7 separate regions of the Homo sapiens genome follow, and regions 1, 2, 3, 4, 5 and 7 are each linked to region 6. The links are contacts of gene promoters, found by promoter capture Hi-C in blood cells and fetal thymus (Javierre and others, 2016). All regions are on one chromosome and are shown on one strand. The core of a region is centred on a gene start or on the middle of the fragment in contact, and the rest is flanking DNA. Distances in the headings are between cores, read along the strand shown.

What was found. The method cuts DNA at HindIII sites, captures the fragments that hold promoters and counts their contacts. A CHiCAGO score of 5 or more calls a contact.
Region 1: a fragment that was not itself captured here is called in contact with the fragment with the promoter of COL28A1 in region 6 in 3 of 17 cell types (total CD4 T cells, non-activated CD4 T cells and naive CD8 T cells); the score reaches 6.6 in total CD4 T cells.
Region 2: a fragment that was not itself captured here is called in contact with the fragment with the promoter of COL28A1 in region 6 in 1 of 17 cell types (total CD4 T cells); the score reaches 5.8 in total CD4 T cells.
Region 3: a contact is called between a fragment that was not itself captured here and the fragment with the promoter of COL28A1 in region 6, in 17 of 17 cell types (total B cells, naive B cells, total CD4 T cells and 14 more). The highest score is 34.5, in total B cells.
Region 4: a contact is called between a fragment that was not itself captured here and the fragment with the promoter of COL28A1 in region 6, in 14 of 17 cell types (naive CD4 T cells, total CD8 T cells, activated CD4 T cells and 11 more). The highest score is 10.2, in naive CD4 T cells.
Region 5: a contact is called between a fragment that was not itself captured here and the fragment with the promoter of COL28A1 in region 6, in 17 of 17 cell types (total CD4 T cells, total CD8 T cells, naive B cells and 14 more). The highest score is 31.8, in total CD4 T cells.
Region 7: a fragment that was not itself captured here is called in contact with the fragment with the promoter of COL28A1 in region 6 in 13 of 17 cell types (total B cells, activated CD4 T cells, total CD8 T cells and 10 more); the score reaches 15.6 in total B cells.

What each region holds. Positions count from the first base shown.
Region 1 is chr7:7,075,128-7,077,827 of GRCh38, reverse strand. All of the region lies in intron 1 of LOC105375138 (a long non-coding RNA gene), which reads right to left. It also overlaps the pseudogene LOC100131257. Among named protein-coding and RNA genes, the nearest start is that of MIR3683, 9.4 kb to the right of the region's middle. The HindIII fragment of the contact is 799 bases long and covers 1,020-1,818 here.
Region 2 is chr7:7,046,436-7,049,135 of GRCh38, reverse strand. The region is part of intron 1 of LOC105375138 (a long non-coding RNA gene); the gene reads right to left. Among named protein-coding and RNA genes, the nearest start is that of MIR3683, 19 kb to the left of the region's middle. The HindIII fragment of the contact is 7,534 bases long and covers 1-2,700 here.
Region 3 is chr7:7,109,360-7,112,059 of GRCh38, reverse strand. LOC105375138 (a long non-coding RNA gene) reads right to left here. Exons shown (of 5, transcript XR_927009.3): 5 at 785-2,617. Among named protein-coding and RNA genes, the nearest start is that of MIR3683, 44 kb to the right of the region's middle. The HindIII fragment of the contact is 4,408 bases long and covers 1-2,700 here.
Region 4 is chr7:7,030,481-7,033,180 of GRCh38, reverse strand. All of the region lies in intron 1 of LOC105375138 (a long non-coding RNA gene), which reads right to left. Among named protein-coding and RNA genes, the nearest start is that of MIR3683, 35 kb to the left of the region's middle. The HindIII fragment of the contact is 1,493 bases long and covers 686-2,178 here.
Region 5 is chr7:7,092,957-7,095,656 of GRCh38, reverse strand. It overlaps LOC105375138 (a long non-coding RNA gene), which reads right to left. Exons shown (of 5, transcript XR_927009.3): 2 at 526-699. It also overlaps the pseudogene LOC100131257. Among named protein-coding and RNA genes, the nearest start is that of MIR3683, 27 kb to the right of the region's middle. The HindIII fragment of the contact is 1,165 bases long and covers 859-2,023 here.
Region 6 is chr7:7,534,541-7,537,240 of GRCh38, reverse strand. COL28A1 (collagen type XXVIII alpha 1 chain) reads left to right here and starts at 1,368. Exons shown (of 35, transcript NM_001037763.3): 1 at 1,368-1,491. The HindIII fragment of the contact is 1,663 bases long and covers 1-1,596 here.
Region 7 is chr7:7,126,611-7,129,310 of GRCh38, reverse strand. No RefSeq gene overlaps it. Among named protein-coding and RNA genes, the nearest start is that of C1GALT1, 55 kb to the left of the region's middle. The HindIII fragment of the contact is 765 bases long and covers 913-1,677 here.

The DNA.
Region 1 (2,700 bases), core at 170-2,669, 460 kb after region 6:
AATTTGATGTAATGCAAATGGAAAACTTGACAGCACATGTCAGGCTTTACCCAACATCAAAATAGTGGAAAGAAAATTGTTGATTATTTATTTATGAAATTGTTAATACATAGTCTCAAACTTTATCATTGCACAAGAATCTAGTGGTGACTTGGTAAATGCAGTGCCATTTTCTCATGGCATTCCTTTATTTAATATGTGTTCTAAGTAGGTACATTTATTTTTACTTTTTTATTATAATAATTTTGATATTAAAAAGAACAGAGATGGGGTCTCACTTTGTTGCCCAGGCTGGTCTCGAACTCCTGGCCTCAAGTGATCTTCTCACCTTGTCCTCCCAAAGTGCTGGAGTTACAGGCATCAGTCACTGTGCTAGGCCTATTTTATTTACAGAACTAATTTAAGCTGTTTTTATTTTAATATGCCCTATAAACATTTTTATTTTTCTTGAAATTGGTTCTTAGTGTTCACAACTTCCATAAGATACTGCGAATGCACCAGTATTAAAACACATCAACATAAGTAGCTCATTTAGCTTTTTCTGCTGTTCTTGGCCCAAGTTCTCTCCAAAACCAACTCTTAGGCCTACTCTTTACTAGGGACCCTATGTTATTGCTTTACAGCCACAACACTTGGATGCCTGTTTATTGATTTCTCCATGCTCTTAAGCACCTTTAGAAGATTTAGAAGATTCCTAGTTTTAAGTGTCTCACCAGCAAGTATTCCATACCTAGTTGATGTTGCTGGTCTGATGTCTTATTTCCTAAAGTGAGGCATCTTTTTTAAAAAAGAATTGGATTTAAAATATATCCAGTCCAATACAAGTATGAATATAAGTAAGTGTTCTCTCTTCTGAGTTTGTAGCAGGCAGCCAAACATTTTCAAACGATGCCCAAGATTTTAGTTGCCTTGTGTGCATCCACAGCCTGCAAAGAGAGATGATAAGGACATCAGGGAGCCAACAAGACTCCTGGTAAGCTCACTACATACATCCAGTGCCTGTTCTGCATGCCTAAGCTTAGAGTTCTTTTATAGACCTCTAAGGCCAGCAAAATGCTCAGGTCTGCTTTTGGTACGGTAAACACAAAGAACATACACAGGCTGGGTGCGGTGGCTCACATCTGTTATCCCAGCACTTTGGGAGGTTGAGGCGGGTGGATCACGAGGTCAGGAGGTGGAGACCATTCTGGCCAACATGGTGAAACCCTGTCTCTGTTAAAAATATAAAAATTAGCCAGGCGTGGTGGCACGTGCCTGTAGTGTCAGCTACTCAGGAGGCTGAGGCAGGAGAATCGCTTGATCCTGGCAGGCGGAGGTTGCAGTGAGCCGAGATCGCCACTGCACTCCAGCTGGCCAAGACTCCATCTCAAAACAAAACAAAACAAAACAAAAAACAAAAACATACAAAAAAAAAATCAGCATCATAAGGGAATGTAGCCTTTCAACAGAGATGATGCTGTTCTTAACGTTAATCTCAGAGACAGTATTTCAAGAGAGTGGCAGGTCTGTTCCTGGTAAAATTTTAACCATTAGGATTGCAGATAAATATTTGAATTCTCCCCCACCCCCACACCAACCAGTCTTCCCTCATCAATCCAGGACAGTATTTGAAGTGTGGGGGCTTTGTGTTAGTTGCTTATCCATTATCACATTTTCGTATTTTAATAGTCTGCATGCCATATAAAAGAACATGGCTTTTTGATTGATAAAAGGGATTATAGATGTCGGCTCAAGTTCAGGGCCACCATCATATACCTAACAAGAGCTCATGCTTCTTTAGGTAATGTCAAAGCATTTTATATTTTTCCATCTTAAGCTTTATAACATTTTGTGAATAAGACAAGTGTTATTTAAAATTCTAGTTGTCAAGCCAGGCTTTCATAGTTCAGATGTTATAATATTTGCTAGGGACCCTCAACAAATATATAAAAATATATTGCTCACTCTATAATCCTCCTTTACAAAAAGTATCACAGAGGGAGTCCACCCACGAGGGGCAACATCATCATCTCCTTTGGATATTACGAATAATGTCACAGAGGTGACATATTGTCACCTCATTATGTGACATAATGTCACATAATGTCCGCCCATGGGGATATTTGTGGCAATATAATTATCTCTCATGAATATTATGAATAATGTCACAAAGGGTGACCACCCACGGTGATATTAGTGGCAATGTCATCATACGCCATGGATATTATGAATAATGTCACTAAGGGTGTACACCCCCTGTGATATTAGGAATAATATAGTCTTCTTTTTTGGATATTATGAATAATAATATCACCAAGGATGTACACCTTTGTGACATTAGAAGGAATATAATCTCCTTCCTTGGATATTATGAATAATAGTATCACCGAGGGTGTACATTCCGTGGGATATTACAAGTAACATCATCTACTCCCTTGGATATTACGAACAATAACATCACAGAGGGTGTAACCATGCAATATTAGGAGTAACATCATCTCCTCCCTCGGATATTACAAATAATAGCATCACAGAGGGTGTACATCCAATGTGATATTAGAAGGAACATGATCTCCTCCCATGGATATTATGAATAATAGCATCACAAAGAGTGTACGTCCCATGCGATATTAGGAGTAACATTATATCTTTCCTTGTATATTACAAATAATAGTATCACAGAGAATATACACCCTGTTCAATATTAGGAGTAACGTCATC
Region 2 (2,700 bases), core at 74-2,573, 490 kb after region 6:
GGAAATATTTTCGAATATTAAAAAAAAGGGCAAGAGCTGATTCACTCTTTCTGTTGTGGTTGGGAGCTTGACAGGAGAAGATATTCAATGACAGCTTTGAATAGTTGTATTAGTCCATTTTCATATTGCTATAAAGAACTACCCAAGACTGGATAGTTTATAAAGGAAAGAGGTATAATTGACTCACAGTTCAGCATTGCTGGGGAAGCCTCAGGAAACACAATCACAGCAGAAAGTGAAGGGAAAGCAAGACACCTTCTTCATAAGGTGGCAGGAAGAAGGGTTGAGCAAAGGGGGAAGAGCCCCATTGGATTTCATGAGAACTCACATAGTATCAGGAGAACAGCATTGGGGAAGCTGCCCCCCGTGATTCAATTACCTCCACCTGGTCTCTCCCTTGACATGTGGGGATTTTGGGGATTAAAATTCAAGATGAGATTTGAGTGGCCTAAGCATATCAATGGTACTCTGCAAAATTGGGATAAACACTGAGGTTGAGGTTATAAACTAGGTGGCGGGTAGTTTGAGAAAATGGAAAATCTCTTTGCTCTCTAACAGATAGCTAGTACTGTTTGGCAGGAAGTGTATTTCAAAAGACAAATTAGGACCAATGTGGCAAATGAGGTTAAAGATGATTCTTGAAATGGAACTGTAGTCAGATTGTCCAGGAGCATTTGAGATAAAGTGTAGTGTGGTAGACGTAGGCTGACTAGGCTTATTCTTATCCAGAAGATGGGCGTCAAGGGTAGTGTTGAGTCGAAGAGACTGGGTCAGGGCTACAAACTGATAGCAGTGGCCTTGGATGCAGATTGTACCTTTGCTTGTGCTGACAAATCCTTCTCAGCTCCCCACTCCACTTTAATCAAACTCCCGGAACTGCTTCAAGATGCCCTGGTTCTCAGGTAGATACTTAGGGAAGGTGTGTCTTTCTTTTTTCTGCACTGGGGCATGACGAGAGAGACATCTAACTCTGCAGTTGTACTGGGCTGGTGTACTGGGCCATCAAGGCGCTACTGAGCCCAGGTGTAATGAATCTAATCTCAAAGGAAATAGAAAGCTGTGGAGGGCCACCACTAAATTATGGCCAGTTACTACTATTTCTTGAATACCTGTCCTGCCCTGGACACTACAGTTTATACTTTACAGGAACATTACCTCACCTCTACACCTTACAGCAAATTTTCAGTGTGAGTATTTTAATTCCATTTAACAGTTGGGGCACTTAGGATAAGAGAGGTAAAGATTCTTGCTTAGAGTCCTACAACTTGTAAATGGCTGAGGCTTGGTTTTAACTTGATTTGTGTGATTCTAAAGATAGTGTCCTCTCCACCACTTGGCCTGGTAGGGAAAGCTGGAGAAATGTGTCCAAACATGTGGTCTACACACCAGGCCTGGAATCTAGCTGACTGGAATGAGCGAATGGATCTCAATCATGCATTCTCAATGAGGGTTGTATTGCCCACAGGGAGCGGCCAAAAATTCTTAGGTCTCATTTAATGGTTTGTAGTCCTACAAAGGTCAAGAGTTCATAACCATATATATCGTATATCTGTGGTATTGACATTTTATACGGAGGGTGTGATCAGGAAAAAAAAAAGTCTAAAAAGGCTCCTTAGGGAGGTCATGATAGTTAAAAGGTTGACAGTCACTGCTTTTTAGTTGCATATCAGGCATAGGAGGGTACTGTGGCTAAATTTCAACCTGCCCCCTTGATGAACTAGTCTCTAACTGGGCAGGGCAGGGCTGAGTTTTGCTTAATTTTACCAGAAGAAAGCCTGCTGTACACTGGGAAAAAAATAGTGTTTCTCACATATTCTGATCTGTTCCTAGTGCGCACCATCATTATGTCATTCTTTCATCTATAAAAGTCTGCCCTGAAGGTCCTGTCAGGCAATCTTGAGCGGGCTGGCTGCAGATTACCAGGTCCAGAAGGTTGGGTAAAGGGTGGAAAATATAGTTGCTAGTAATGATGAACAAGGGTGGTTTAGGTAGAGGGGAGCAATGTTTTTCCCTTCTAGGCTCTGGCTGCTCAGAGTATAGTCCTCGGGAGGCAGCACCAGCACCACCTGGGAGCTTGTTAGAAATGCAGCATATCGGGATCCACTCAGCCTTAATGGGTCTCCTGGACAACATGCATATCAAACGGCAACAGCATATCAAAAATAGATCATGCAGGAACAAGAGAGGAAGTAGAAAGCCTACTAAAGAGGCTGTCCAGGAGAAAGTGTAGTTCAGAGACCCGTTAAGTTAAATTTTGAGAAGTACAGCTCTAGGCCAGGGGTGTTCAGTCTTGGCTAAGTTAGAATCTCCTGGACATATTAGACAATATAAGATTCCTAGGCCCTACTTGAAACAACTTAGATCAAGCACTGGCTTGGGAAGGTACTTGCAGGTATGGTTTTATATTGAGTGACCTGATTTATGGTTTGCATAGATCCCTCTGCTACAGAGGATAATTTGTGAGTGGGTGTGGAAGGCAGGCAGGGCCAGGAATGAAAGCAAGGAGACCACGGAGACCTTCCATACAGGCTGTATTAGGCAGAGCAAAACTGCATCAATGTTTTCTTTCTTTTTTTTTTTTTTTCAAGACAGTGTCTCACTCTGTTGCCCAAGCTGGAGTGCAGTGGCATGATCTAGACTCACTGCAACTTCTGCCACCTGGGTCCAAGTGATTCTCTTGCCTCAGCCTCCCACGTAGCT
Region 3 (2,700 bases), core at 114-2,613, 430 kb after region 6:
CACCCAGGCTGGAGTGCAGTGGCGTGATCTCGGCTCACTGCAAGCTCCGCCTCCCGGGCTCATGCCATTCTCCTGCCTCAGCCTCCCGAGTAGCTGGGACTACAGGTGCCCACCACCACACCCAGCTAATTTTTTGTACTTTTAGTAGAGACGGGGTTTCACCATGTTAGCCAGGATGGTCTCGATCTCCTGACCTCGTGATCCGTCCGCCTTGGCCTCCCAAAGTGCTGGGATTACAGGCGTGAGCCACCATGCCCGGCCTTTAATCTATTTTATTTTTCTGATTCTGATGGCATTGCACTGTGGTTTTAATTTGCATTTCTTTGATTATGACCTAGAGTCCTTGTTTTTTAAAAACATTCATGTACCCTTTATTATTCTATAATGTCTTCTATTATGGATATTTATGTACATGTCTGAGAGCAGAGATTAAATCTTGAATATATTTGTACACTTCAGGTCATCTAACTTTTGTATAGTTAGTAATCGATAAGTATTTATTGAATAAATATGTAATCATTATTACCACTAATTAAGTATTTCTTTTGTGCCAGGTACTATAATTAGCATTTTATATACGTCGTTATATTTGTTTGACACCCATATGCTTTTAGATAGCTAAAAGTATTCCCCTTTTCCAGATATGGAAATTAAAGCTCAGAGAGTTTAAGTGATTAAGTTTTTCTACTAGGTTTTCAACTAGTGAATGAAGGAGCTGAAATTTAAAGTTTTATCTCTTTTACTCCACATTCTATGCTCTTAATTACCATGCAAAAAGGGAGCATGAAAGAAAATTTGAGTTTATTTTTTTTAAGGTGTCTGGTTGCAAGAAACAGAAACCAATTTGAAATGGCCTAAACAAAGAAGGGAGAATTTATTACAAGAATTTAAGGGCCATATGAAGAGGGCAGTATTTGGGGAACAAGAAAGAAGGGGATCAGTTTTGGAAAGCCATTAGGAATCTGGGATATATTCTCTTTCCATCTTTGATCTCTGCATTTCTGCCTTGTGTCCATGTTACTATTCTCCTCTTGCTTTAGCTTTCTCTGCTGATCTGCCCTTATGACAGAATACAGCAACTCCACAGCTCCCAAGCATACAAATTGTACCTAACAGCCATGAAAATAGACTGGCTGGCTTTCCTTTGGTCTGGATTCCACATTCCTGAGAAGAAAAATGATTAGCTCAAACTAGGTCAAATTTTCCAATTAACTATATCCAGATGAGTAGGGAGTTACAGACTACCAACAGGATTCCTAGAAGCCCAAGCTATTACTTGGGGAGCCATTTCCAGAGAAGGGAATGGCTCATGGGTTCAGTAGACCCTTCTAAAAGCATCTATCCCAGAGTTCCCATCCAGGCAATGCAGAGGCCCAGAGCAACGTATAAAGGAGGGTTGTCTTTCTTCCTGTGAACTCTGAAAATTTGGCACAGGTCTCAGTTAATTTAAAAGTTTATTTTGCCAAGATTGAGGATGTCCCCATGACACAGCCTCAGGAGGTCCTGACAACATGTGCTCAAGGTGGCTGGGGTACAGCTTAGTTTTATACATTTTAGGGAGACACGAGACATCAATCAATATATATAAGAAGTACAGTCAATATATGTAAAAAGACAGGTGAGACAGGAAGGGTTGCATTATTTTGAGCTTCTGCTTAGTCCTTCCAAAAGAGGCAATCAGCTATGCATCTCAGTGAGCAGAGGGGTGACTTTGAATAGAATGGGAGGCAGATTTGCCCTAAGCAGTTCCCAGCATAACTTTTTCCCTTTAGCTTAGTGATTTGGGGGCCTCAAGATTTGTTTTCCTTTCACATTTACCCTCTTTTCTTTTTAAAAATATTTTGGAGATGGCATTTAACTAGAAAATTAGTCTCTGGTCTCAGGTTTCACCTGATCTTTCATGGCTAGGATGGTTTATTCCTAGAAGAGCAAATAGTGGAAGAAGAAGGGAGAAAAACAACAAACAAAAGAACACTCCTGGAAAATCAATATAGGCCCCACTACTCTGAAGTCTATAAATCAGTAGCAGGTATGAAAGTGGCTTATGCATGTAAATAGGTGGCTGTTATTTTCTTCTGAACTTTAAGTTGTCTAGTTTCAGTTTGCAGGGCTTTAAGAAAGCACAGCTTGGTTTTCAGTGACTCCCAGTTAGGAAAAATTGAAAAAAAAAAAAAAAAAGAAGGAAAAAAAAGAAAAAAAAAATTGAAAACATTATTTTGAAGACTTGTAGTCAAGAGAAAATTAGAATTTAGCCCAAACTGTAGAAATAATAAAAATTGAAAAACATTAGACAAGACTAGAATCTAACAACAGGTGTACAATTGTTTTTGAAACATAATTTTTCTCTCTCCAGTTTCCCATTTTTGCTAAAGACAAATCATGGTAGGATTGGTTTGCTTTATTATACTTGGCCTAATTACTTATATACAGTGCAAAAAAAATTATTTTTTACATAGGCTTTATATTGGCTTTGATGGAACCTTGTTCCATAGAAGGAATACCAGATAAGATGTTTTTAAAGCAGAGCCCAGCCATGGATTTGTGCCATCAAATACCTGTGAGTTGGGTGAATTTTCTCTCCTCTTGAGGTTCCAAGATAAACCGGGGGCCTCTACGCCTGTTAGAAGTGACATTCTTTACTTACCACAGGTCAGAAACCCTGTACAGGGACTGTGTACACAAAATATGAGGCCAATTTTT
Region 4 (2,700 bases), core at 183-2,682, 500 kb after region 6:
CTCTCGTTCTCCAGCTTGAGCCCAGAGAAGCCATCCCTGACTATATCTCACAGGGAACCTTGGTGAAGGCAGCTGGCAAAATTCGGGAGGGGTCACAGCATGAAAGGAGCTTCCAACTGAACTATGTAATAATTTTGACTGGGTGCAAACTTTCTTGAGCAGAATCTGGGGGTGAACAGGAATTGCCTCAAAGAGTAGAGCAGGAGTTGAGGCAGACAGTGTGGACAGACAGGAAGGGGCATGGCCTGAAAGCCTTGCTTGCTTTCTCAGTGGGGAAACTTATAGTCTGGGGTAAGGTCTGAGTCCTGTGGACAGGCTGCCTGGAGACAAACTTAGCGCTGTTAGCAGGGTACAGTGGAAAAGATACCAGTCTCACCAACACGTGGGAACTGGGTAAGGCCTATCACTAATGCCTTTCCACCACTTCCCTAGCCACGGATGCAGCCATAATTTCCTCTGGAACATAAGCCTATTGGCCCAAGAACTACCCCCTATCCCCCACAGTGGTCACAACAAGCCCCACTCAAGTGTCTGAGCTCAGACCCACCTAACCCTGCTCCCACCTGATGGTATTTCTCTACCTGTCCTGGTAGCGTATCACAAAATATAAACTCTTGGGAGCTTTATGACCCTTCCCATTGCCTGAGAAACCCAAATAGTTACCCTGGTCAACTTAGGGCAAGCTTATATCCACCTTCTACTATCATAGCTGGTGCCCTCTTGAAAGCACCACCTCCTGGCTGGAGGCCAACCAACTCAGATCCTTATAGCAACTCATGACAAAATAAGCCTGATCCCAGGAAGAACAAGGCAACAGCTAATTCCACTGCCCGCAACATCCTGGCTAACCAGAGTGTGTCCTGAGTGTGTCCATGTAACAACTTCACTGCTAGCGTAACAAGTATTTAAGAAGCCAGCACACTAAAAATATCTACAACCGAGGACTGTCACAGAGTCTGCTTCACTCCCCTGCCACCTCCACCAGAGCAGGTGCTGGTATCCATGAATGGGAGACCTGAAGATGGATCACATCACAGGATTGTTTGGAGACATTATCTAGCACCAGCCCAGAGCTCAGTAGCCCAAATGGGTGGCTAGACCAAGAAGAGCAATAAGAATCACTGCAGTCTGGCTAACAGGAAGCCCCATCCCTAGGGAAAGGGGGAACACACCACACCAAGGGACCACTTCATGAGACAAAAGAATCTGAACAGTAGCCCTTGAGTTCCAGACTTTTGTGCAGAAATAGTCTACCCAAATGAGAAGGAATCAGAAAAGTTAGTCTGGCAATATGACAAAACAAGGTTCTGTAACATCCCTAAAAGACCACACTAGTTCCTTAGCAATGGATCCAAACCAAGAAGAAAGCTCTAAATTGCCAAAGAATTCAGAAGGTTGATTATTAAGCTACTCAAGGAGATAACAGAGAAAGGTGGAGACTAACTTAAATTAAAAAAAACAGGATATGGATGAAAAATGCTCCACGTATTATATATATATATATGTATGTGTCTATATATATATGTATGTATATATGTGTATAAGTATATATATGTGTATATATATATTTTTTAAATAACAACTTCTAGTAATGAAAGACAGACTTAGAGAAATACAAAATGCAGTGGAAAGTTTCAACAATAGAATCAAACAAGTAGAAGAAAGAACTTCAGAGCTCAAATACAAGGCTTTTCAAATTAATTCAATCAGACAAAAACAAAGAAGAAGGAATTTGGTAAAAATGAAGAAGGCCTCCAAGAAACTTGGAATTATGTTAAATGGCCAAATCTAAGAATAATTGGTATTCCTGAGGTAGAAGAGAAATCTAAAAGTTTGGAAAACATATTTGAGGGAATAATTGAGAAAAATGTCCCTGGCCTTGCAAAAGATCTAGACATCCAAATACAAGAAGCTCAAAGAACACCTGTGAAATTCATCGCAGAAAGATAGTAATCCCAGGCACATAGTAATCAGGTTATCTAAAGTCAAAATAAAGGAAAGATTGTTAAGAGCTGTGAGACAAAAATCATTAAGTAACCTATAAAAGAAAACCTATCAGATGAATAACAGATTTCTCAGCAGAAATCCTGCAAGCCAAAAGGGATTGGGGTCATATCTTTAGCCTCCTCAAACAAAATAATTATCAGCCAAGAATTTTGGCTGTAGCAAAACTAAGCTTCATAAATGAAAGAGAGATAAAGTCATTTTCAGACACACAAATACTGAAAGAATTCACCACTACCAATCCAGTGCTACAAGAAATGCTAAAAGGAGTTCTAAATGTTGAAACAAATCCTCAAAATATACCAAAATAGAACCTATTTAAAGCATAAATCTCACAGGGCCTAGAAAACAAAATACAATTATAAAAAGGGATTTAGGCAACAAGTAGCAAAAATGAATACCACAGTACTTCACATCGCAATACTAACAATGAATGTAAATGGCTTAAATGCTCCACTTAAAAGATACAGAATGGCAGAATGGAGAAAAATCTACCAATCAAGTATCTGCTGTCTTCACGAGACTTACCCAATGCACAAGGACTCACATAAACTTAAGGTAAATGAGTGGGAAAAGATATTCCATGAAAATGGAAACCAAAAGTGAGCAGGGGTAGCTATTCTTATATCTCACAAAACAGACTTTAAAGCAACAACAGTTAAAAAAAGACAAAGAGGGACATTATATAATGATAAA
Region 5 (2,700 bases), core at 192-2,691, 440 kb after region 6:
GTGAGCTGAGATCACGCCACTGCACTCCAGCCTGGGTGACAGAGTGAGACTCTGTCTCAAAAAAAAAAAAAAAAAAAGAAAAAGTAAAATACAAAAAGGAAGAAGAAAAGAATTACCTGCAGCTCCATCACCTAGGAACAATTTAAATACAGCTGTTATATGTAACTCTTTATTGCCTATCAAAAAAAGCTGCAAATTCCTTAGTGTGGGAGAGATACTCATTATAATCTGATCCCCATTCTGCTCTCCCACATCAGTCTCTCTCCAGTCACTCTCTCTTTGTAGACTCTTCAGTGCTGTTTTGTTTCAAAGCGAGCCTTTCATTTTTCAGCTCCTTTTTCTCACTCAAGTTTACATTTTATGCCTGTGTACATTTTTGCTGTCTGCCTGTTTATATTCAGAAGTTTTATAACACCTGTTGTAGTTTTAGGAGATTGTAATTAATAATTTCCTGTTTCCTCATTTGAGTTAAAAATCAATGTCAGATATATGTAGAGATCAGGCATACAGAAAGCGGAATATTACCTGAATTGGAAGAGATCTCGAACTTCAGGCCGTGTATGCTAGGCAGGACTCGCTCTCCAGGTCTAGGGGAAGTCCACTCCAGAAGGAGTTGAGCTATAGTGTTGATACATTTATGCAGAATCACTGCTTTACATCCACTGAGAAAGAGAGGGGAATCTTCTTACTGTTTGCAGGCTTTAAAAAAAAATGAGCATCACGTGTTAGTCTACCTTGCATTGCTATAAAGGAATGCCTGAGGCTGGGTAATTTATAAAGAAAAGAGGTTTATTTGGCTCATAGTTCTGTGTAAGAAGCATGATAACAGCATCTGCTTCGGGAGGGCCTCAGGAAGCTTCCATTCATAGTGGAAGACAAAGGGGAAGTGGACATATCACATGGCAGGAGAGAGGTAGTAAGAGAGGGAGGAGGAGGTCCCAGTCTCCTTTAAATAACCTAGCTCTCGTGTGAACTGCCAGAATGAGAGCTCACTCATTACCATTGGGATGGCACCAAGCCATTGATGAAAGATTTGCCCCCGTGACCCAAACACCTCTCACTAGGCTCATCTGCAACATTGGAGGTCACATTTGAACATGAGATTTGGAGGAGACACACACCCAAATTATATCACATCAGTAGGTGGCAATGAGGTCTGACTCAAGGACATGTGTAAACAAAGCTGGGACTTTCCTCAATATTTGTGGAGAGAAAAGCTAGAATGTGGGGGCATCTTGCTAATTTTTCAGGTAGAATCTCAGAGTCGTTGTAATTAGGGTGTTAAAGGAAATGTGGTAAGCAGAAGAGAGATGGTCTATGAGAGAAACTTACTATTATATAAACATTCATACTTAAACATATGTTAAAATTATGACAAGATATAAAACATAAACCAGCACTATATAAACAGATTGTTCATAAAAACAACTCTAGGAATGTGTTTGATTCTTTTACTGTATATTTTTGAGGCATTTTTGTTTTGATATATTACAAATAAATTATAGAGAATAATATAAATGACTCCCATATACTTATTACACAGCTTGATTGAAGCTCCTGTGTGAAATTTTGAAAATATAGTTTAAATATAAAATGCAGCTTCAAAAAAATTCCCAAACACATCAACAATTCATGTTCCTCCAAATACACTTTGGGGATCGTGAGCATTGGGTTATGTGGCCAGCAGCCTCTGCGAGGACTCCCAGTGATGCCTGCTGCCTGGCATTTACACCTTTGCATAACCTCCCCACCTTCAGTGTGGGCTGAGGCTTTTGAAAGTGAAGTCTTATTGGAACACAGCTACACCCATTTGTTTACATGTTGCCCACTGCTACAATGGCAAAGTTGAGTTGTTTCAACAGAGACATACATGGCCAGCAGAGCCTAATATATTTACTCTCTGGCCCTTTGCAGAAAAGGTTTTGCTGACCTTTCTAACTCATTATTCCTAATGGCTAGCCATGGCTTCCCAGGAGCTCATTAAGCTATTAAAACGCCAGTGAATCTGTATATTCTACAAGCTTAACTGCCGTGTGAATGAATATGGCTCAAATATAAATTTTCAAATATACGTTGTCAAAAACAAAATACAAATTAATTTCAAAGCATTAGAGGATTTATGGTAGCTTTTACTCTTTATGTATTTTTTTCAGCTAGGGGATAAAACAAAATAACAATTTATATAATTTATATCACATGGAGTCCTGTGAAATGTTTTTGCATTATGTGCTTCACTTTTTTTTCTTTTAATGATTGTAAACGATTGATCTAGTTAGACTCTATGGGCCAAGATTACCTTAATGAAACATAGATATCTTAGTCAATTTAAATATTTGAGATTAGTTATACCATGTATGTGGTCATTGATTCCCAGGGCCAAATTCTATTTTACACTAAATATGATGGGTGAAAAATAATAGCTTGAGACCATTAAGATGCAACACTAATAATAATAATTTCCTGAACACTTAGCTTGTGCCAGACACTGTCCTAAGTGTTTTTCATGAATTTACTCCTTTAATCATCGTAACATCATGTGGAGTTATCAGGACATAAAGCCACATGTTAGATTCAGGTTTAGAAACTTATTAATGTTTTAATTTTACAATTTAAAATATTATAGGCCGGGCACAGTGGCCCACACCTGTAATCCCAGCACTTTGGGAGGCTGAGGTGGGCAGATCACTTGAGCCCAGGAGT
Region 6 (2,700 bases), core at 119-2,618:
CCCTTTGACAGTACTGCATCCTGTCCAGGGCTGGTTCCTGCCTTGTATCCTCAGCTGCTGGGACAGGATCTGGTCAACCGTGACCCTGAACTGGAATATGCAGGTAAGCAGTTATCTTGTTTTTATCAATCTTTCATAAATGTATATATAGCTTAGATTTATTTCAATGTTTATTATTAGAGGTGTTTTGAGTATTTAGAGGTTTAGTGATGTTTTTGTGACTAGGAATATGCCATAAGAGCTTAACTCTTATTTATATCAATTAGCTCTTGGGAAAATTGTCTTCATTATCAATTGTTTCACTTTATGTCACAGTTTCCAGAACCTACAGAGGACATTAAGTGAGGACTTACTGTATATAGGTGGTTGTGCTTGTGAAGGATTAAATGAGGTAATGTGTGTGAAGCACTCAGGACAGTGCCTAGCACCTGGTAAGTGTCCATGAATTGGAGGCTATTATTGCTGTAATAAGGAAATTCATACACATTAAAATGGCTAAGAAAGTTCATTTTAAATAACCGTAACATGCACATTTGTATTGCTTTCTCGGATGATCTTGCTATTCTCTATTTCAGAGGAAGTCCGTGGAGAAGCCTGCCTGTTAGCTGTCTAGGGGTCAGGTGGCTTCTTGGCAGTATATATTACATGATAAACATTGACTTAATATGGACCATAACCACAAGGTAGAAAATAGGGAAACAGGGAGTGGAAAAACCACAGTGATCCTTTCCTAGAGAGAGACCAAAATATTAACCGCTGTAAACCTCTCATGTTACAGTTCGAACACATCTTAATAAATGATTAAATCTACTCTCTCATTTCATAAGTGGGGAACTGAAGCCCCCATAAAAGTTAGGGGCAGAACTATGACTATACTCAGACCACTCTTTCCCTGTATATTATATATACCTTTTATTATAAAAAATTTCAAAAATCACAGAAATACAAAGACTAGAACAATGCACACCTATGTACTCATCATCCAGCTTTAATAACAATCAAACTGTTACCTCTCTTAAAAAAACAGCTTTGATTCTGAGTCTGGTGTCATTTATACTCCTTCACAGAGATGTTCAGAACCAGTATCTTAGAGCACATCCCCCAGGCAAAGAAATGTAGCAATAAAAAGAGAAGGACATAGCATGAGAAAAAAAGGCAGGCTGTCAACCAATGCCTAAAATGTAGAAAGTTCTCTCAAGTTGTTTTTACAATAGTCTGGAAAACACAGTCTCATTCTGAAAGGACACTGTTCCTTTAAATTGCTTACTGATCCCACCCAGATCTTGCACCCTGGCCAAATGCCTGACCACTCTTGCTTTGACTTAGTCGAATAAACATGAACAAAAGACTGCAAAAGATCCTAAAGCAAAGACACTTTTATTTCCCACAGAACAGAACAATATCAAATAGCTAACTTCACCCCCAACCACAGTCCTTGCTGTTGGCATTTACTCAACTAGTCTTTAATTCCTGTTTGACAAACTTTATAAGGTAAGACATAACAGATTTATTTTAGTCACTTGAAATCAGATAGGACCATCAAGGAACTGTGGAAGACTAAATGACTTACTTACATAATTATTAGGTGAGAAAGCTTGTCAATAGTTTGTATTCTCTGCAATTACTTCAAATCAATTATTAGAAAAATATTAACATTGTTAAAATGTAGAAATTTAAAACTTAAAATTATTTTGAAATGGATTTTTAATTTACAGTCTTCTAAATTGTTTTACAACGATGTTAATATATTTTAGGACATCTTTTTCTTAATTTGGAACAGGGTTTACAATTCAGAATTAGTTATAGAATACTTTACAACTTGGCTAATTTGTCAATTTGAATAAAGTCTTTATTCAATCATTTTCTATTTGTGTAGAAACTGAGATGCAAACATTGTAACTAAAGTTGGTGAACTCTGATATAAGATCATTTTATTTTTGAAAAATTATAAAAAATAAAGTATCTTGGATTTATTTACTGATCCTGATATTTACCCCAAATAAATTTTAGGCCAAAAGTAAAACTACGGTATTTGATTAATAATTATGATTGTTTCTGCATTTATAAAATGTAACCTATAGTAAACACAGAGGTTCACATTTCTTTCACTTAACTAATGGCACTGTTTCCTCTGAAACCTATTTTGCTTGTACGTGACATCAGAAAGAGAGAAAGGTGAGAATTATTAAAAACAGAGGCAAAATAAAACATGGTAAAAAGTGATTAGAAATGAGTGGGCTCTCAAGATGCCAAATTAATAAACGAGAAAGATATTTCAGGGAAGCAGTAGAACTAACAAGCTAGAGAAACAAATCTAGAGAGGTATGAAAATGTCCTCTGGCTACAATAGGGAAACAGAAAGAAATAACAAGACTTTGGTTTGGGAGAGCTAGATTAACAATGTCAGAGCAAATAAGAACAAAATATGAGATACTGGGATTATTGTCAATGGAAAAGTTATGTTTGTGAATATCATATATACAGGGATCAGGTACAAATTCATGATTATATGCCAAGAAAACAGTAAGAGCAGGTGCTTAGTTTTGGGAAAAGATAAATCTTTATTTAAAGCCAGTATTTCTAAAACCTTACATGAAGGGTTTTGAAGAGTTGCTTGATTATGTTGCTTATAAAATCTTGCTCAGTTCTCAATGGAATTCAGTTCTCAGCCTCTTATTTCCAGAACTTCTGAGATGTTCC
Region 7 (2,700 bases), core at 46-2,545, 410 kb after region 6:
TTCTTCTTGATGACAGCCTATCAAAACTGCTAGTTTTCCAGTCAAATTCACGAAAACTATAGTGCTTCTATGGAGCATTTTATTTCTGACTTACATGCATTGCTGCCACAGCAGTAATTAGAAGTTACTCTCTGGAGTATCAGATTGCCTAGGTTCACATGTGGATTCTACCACTTGCTATTTGACCTCATGCAAATTCTGAATCTTTCTGTGCCTGTTTTCTCTTCTGTAAAATGGGAATAATAATAATACCTAGGATTGGTGTGGAAATTAAATGAGATAACACATATTACCTTAGTGAGTGCTCCATAAAGGTTAACTATTATTAATATCATTATTATTGCACATTGACATTTCACTAAGATCCCACAAAGTGCACTGTGTCTCTTTACCTTCACTCAAGCTCCTTTCCCCAGAAGTATCTCTCTCTGTTTGGCCAACTAAAGTCTCTCATTTCAGCCTCTGGGGACTTCTTCCTCCTATGAAATACACTTGTATCCTCTCATTTGACACTTATCCCACACTTTCTATTATCATTGAACCATAGAATGTTTGAGATGGAAAAAAATGATTCACTCAAACCTGTCATTTTACAGCTGGTGTAACAGAGGTCCCATTAGGATAAATTATTTCCCAAGGCCATATCTTTAAAACATAGACCAGGTCACAACTTGGTCTCCTAACTCTCAGTCTCTATGTCTACAACGTGATTTTAAGTACTTAACAGAATTCCTGCACACAATTCTCAGTAGTTTACTGGCTTCTTGCATGAATTCTTAAAATATACTGTGCTCAGTCAGTAATTTTTAGAGCCAAATCCAAGAACTTTGCTTGTCATAGTGCCTAAGCTCTTGTCATTCTCCAAGATTAAAGAAACGATACTCAGACCTGTCAAAATATAATCACAAAGCTTATCAGGAAAATCATCTGAAAATAAGTCATGCATATTGTATGATATGAGAAGGATATACTACATAGCAGGAGATGCTGCATAGATTTTATGCGGTAGACATACATTCCTGCTGTAGTGTCAGTTCTTTTAGAGATTAGCCAAAAATATAAGAAGGCTGCTATGTAATTGCAAGGAAAACACTTTTTATCATTAGTTTAGTCTTTAGGTAAATGCTTTAAAAATAAATTTCAATATCTTTAGCCCAATAAGATAAAGGTCTGTATACTATACCCCTACAAAGTAAACACAACTAGATAAAAAGTAAAATACAGGCGAAACCAATCTTGTATTTGTATGCAAGATAGCAGTTACATAGCTTTTCCAGGGCTGAGGAACTGAGTGTTGTCTCTGAGAGTTATGTTTATGTCCACAGGCCACTGTGGACTTTGGTGGGGAATAAATAAGGAAGTCCAGCATGCATATTCTGGGAAAGAAGAAGAAAAGAGGAAGAACATGGGAAAGGTAGGAGAGAAATCTCCTTCTGTAAAAAGAAAGTAGAAGAGCAATCTCATTTCTCCCAACTTTTCTCTCACAATTTTTAGAATGCTGTGTGTCAGGGGTTCCCAAGACCACCCCTCATTTCCAATGATTTGGTAAAAGGATTCAAATAATTTAGCATGTATTTGTACTTATGGCTGATATTATTACCATGAAAAGATAGAAAGCCAAATCAAAAAAGGGAAAAGGCACATGAGGCAAAACCAGGAGAAAACCAGGCACAAGCTTCCAAGGGTTCTTTCATAGTGGAGTGGCTTAATTCCTTCAGCAATGAGTTGTGGCAACACATGCAAAGTGCTTTCTACTGGGCCAGCTCAGAAGAGACTTGGTGTCCAAGGTTTCTTTTATTGAAGGCTTGTCAAATAGGAACCCTCTTCCTACCATATACCAAAATTCCAGGCTCCCCTCCCAGGGAGGTGTTCACCATAAACATGCTGTTTACACAAACAGTATAGCCATAGTGAGTCACCTTTGTTATTTAGGCAAATTTTTAAAGGTGTGCAGGAAACTTTTTACCAGCCAAGTTCCCAGATGCCAGCTAAGGGCTGATCTTGTAAGTGGGCCTTTCTAAGGATAGCAGGCTCAGGCCTGCTATGTTAACTATTCTGCTCACACTATTTTCTTCATTCCAGCATTCAGAGAGACATAAGAATGACAACTGACATAATCTCATTTAAGATAACTCATCTGTAGCACAGACAGGCTGACTACCTTGTTTTAAGTCATATCTAGTTAGTTGGCTAGGATAGTTCACCTGGGACCATAGGTGTGAACCCTTGGTTCTGGCTGTTAGTTGGATTCCTTGCTTCTTCTCTACTTCATGTTCACAGAGGTAGCCAAGATGCTGCCAGACAACTTCTTCTCACATGTCTGATGTCTTGGTTGGGACGGCTGGAATAGCTAGGCCTAGTGCCATGTCTATGCAGATTTATCAGGGGGATATCTTGGGCTTCCCTATACATGGTGGTCCCAGATACCTGGAGTTCTTACATAATGGTTAGTTTCCCCTAGAGCAAGCATTCTAAGAGACACACTGGAAGTCCTAGAGGATCACTTGTCACATTCTATTAGTAAAGCAAAGTACTAAGACTCGCTCCAGATTCAAAGTGAGGAGAATTAAACTCAATAGCAGGAATAGCAAATGATTTGCAACCATCTGTAATATATTGCAATAAATAATGTATCTGAATAGCTTCACATATATCCATTTCTATTATTCTAGTTATGTACTTTGCATGTTTTATTTCTCT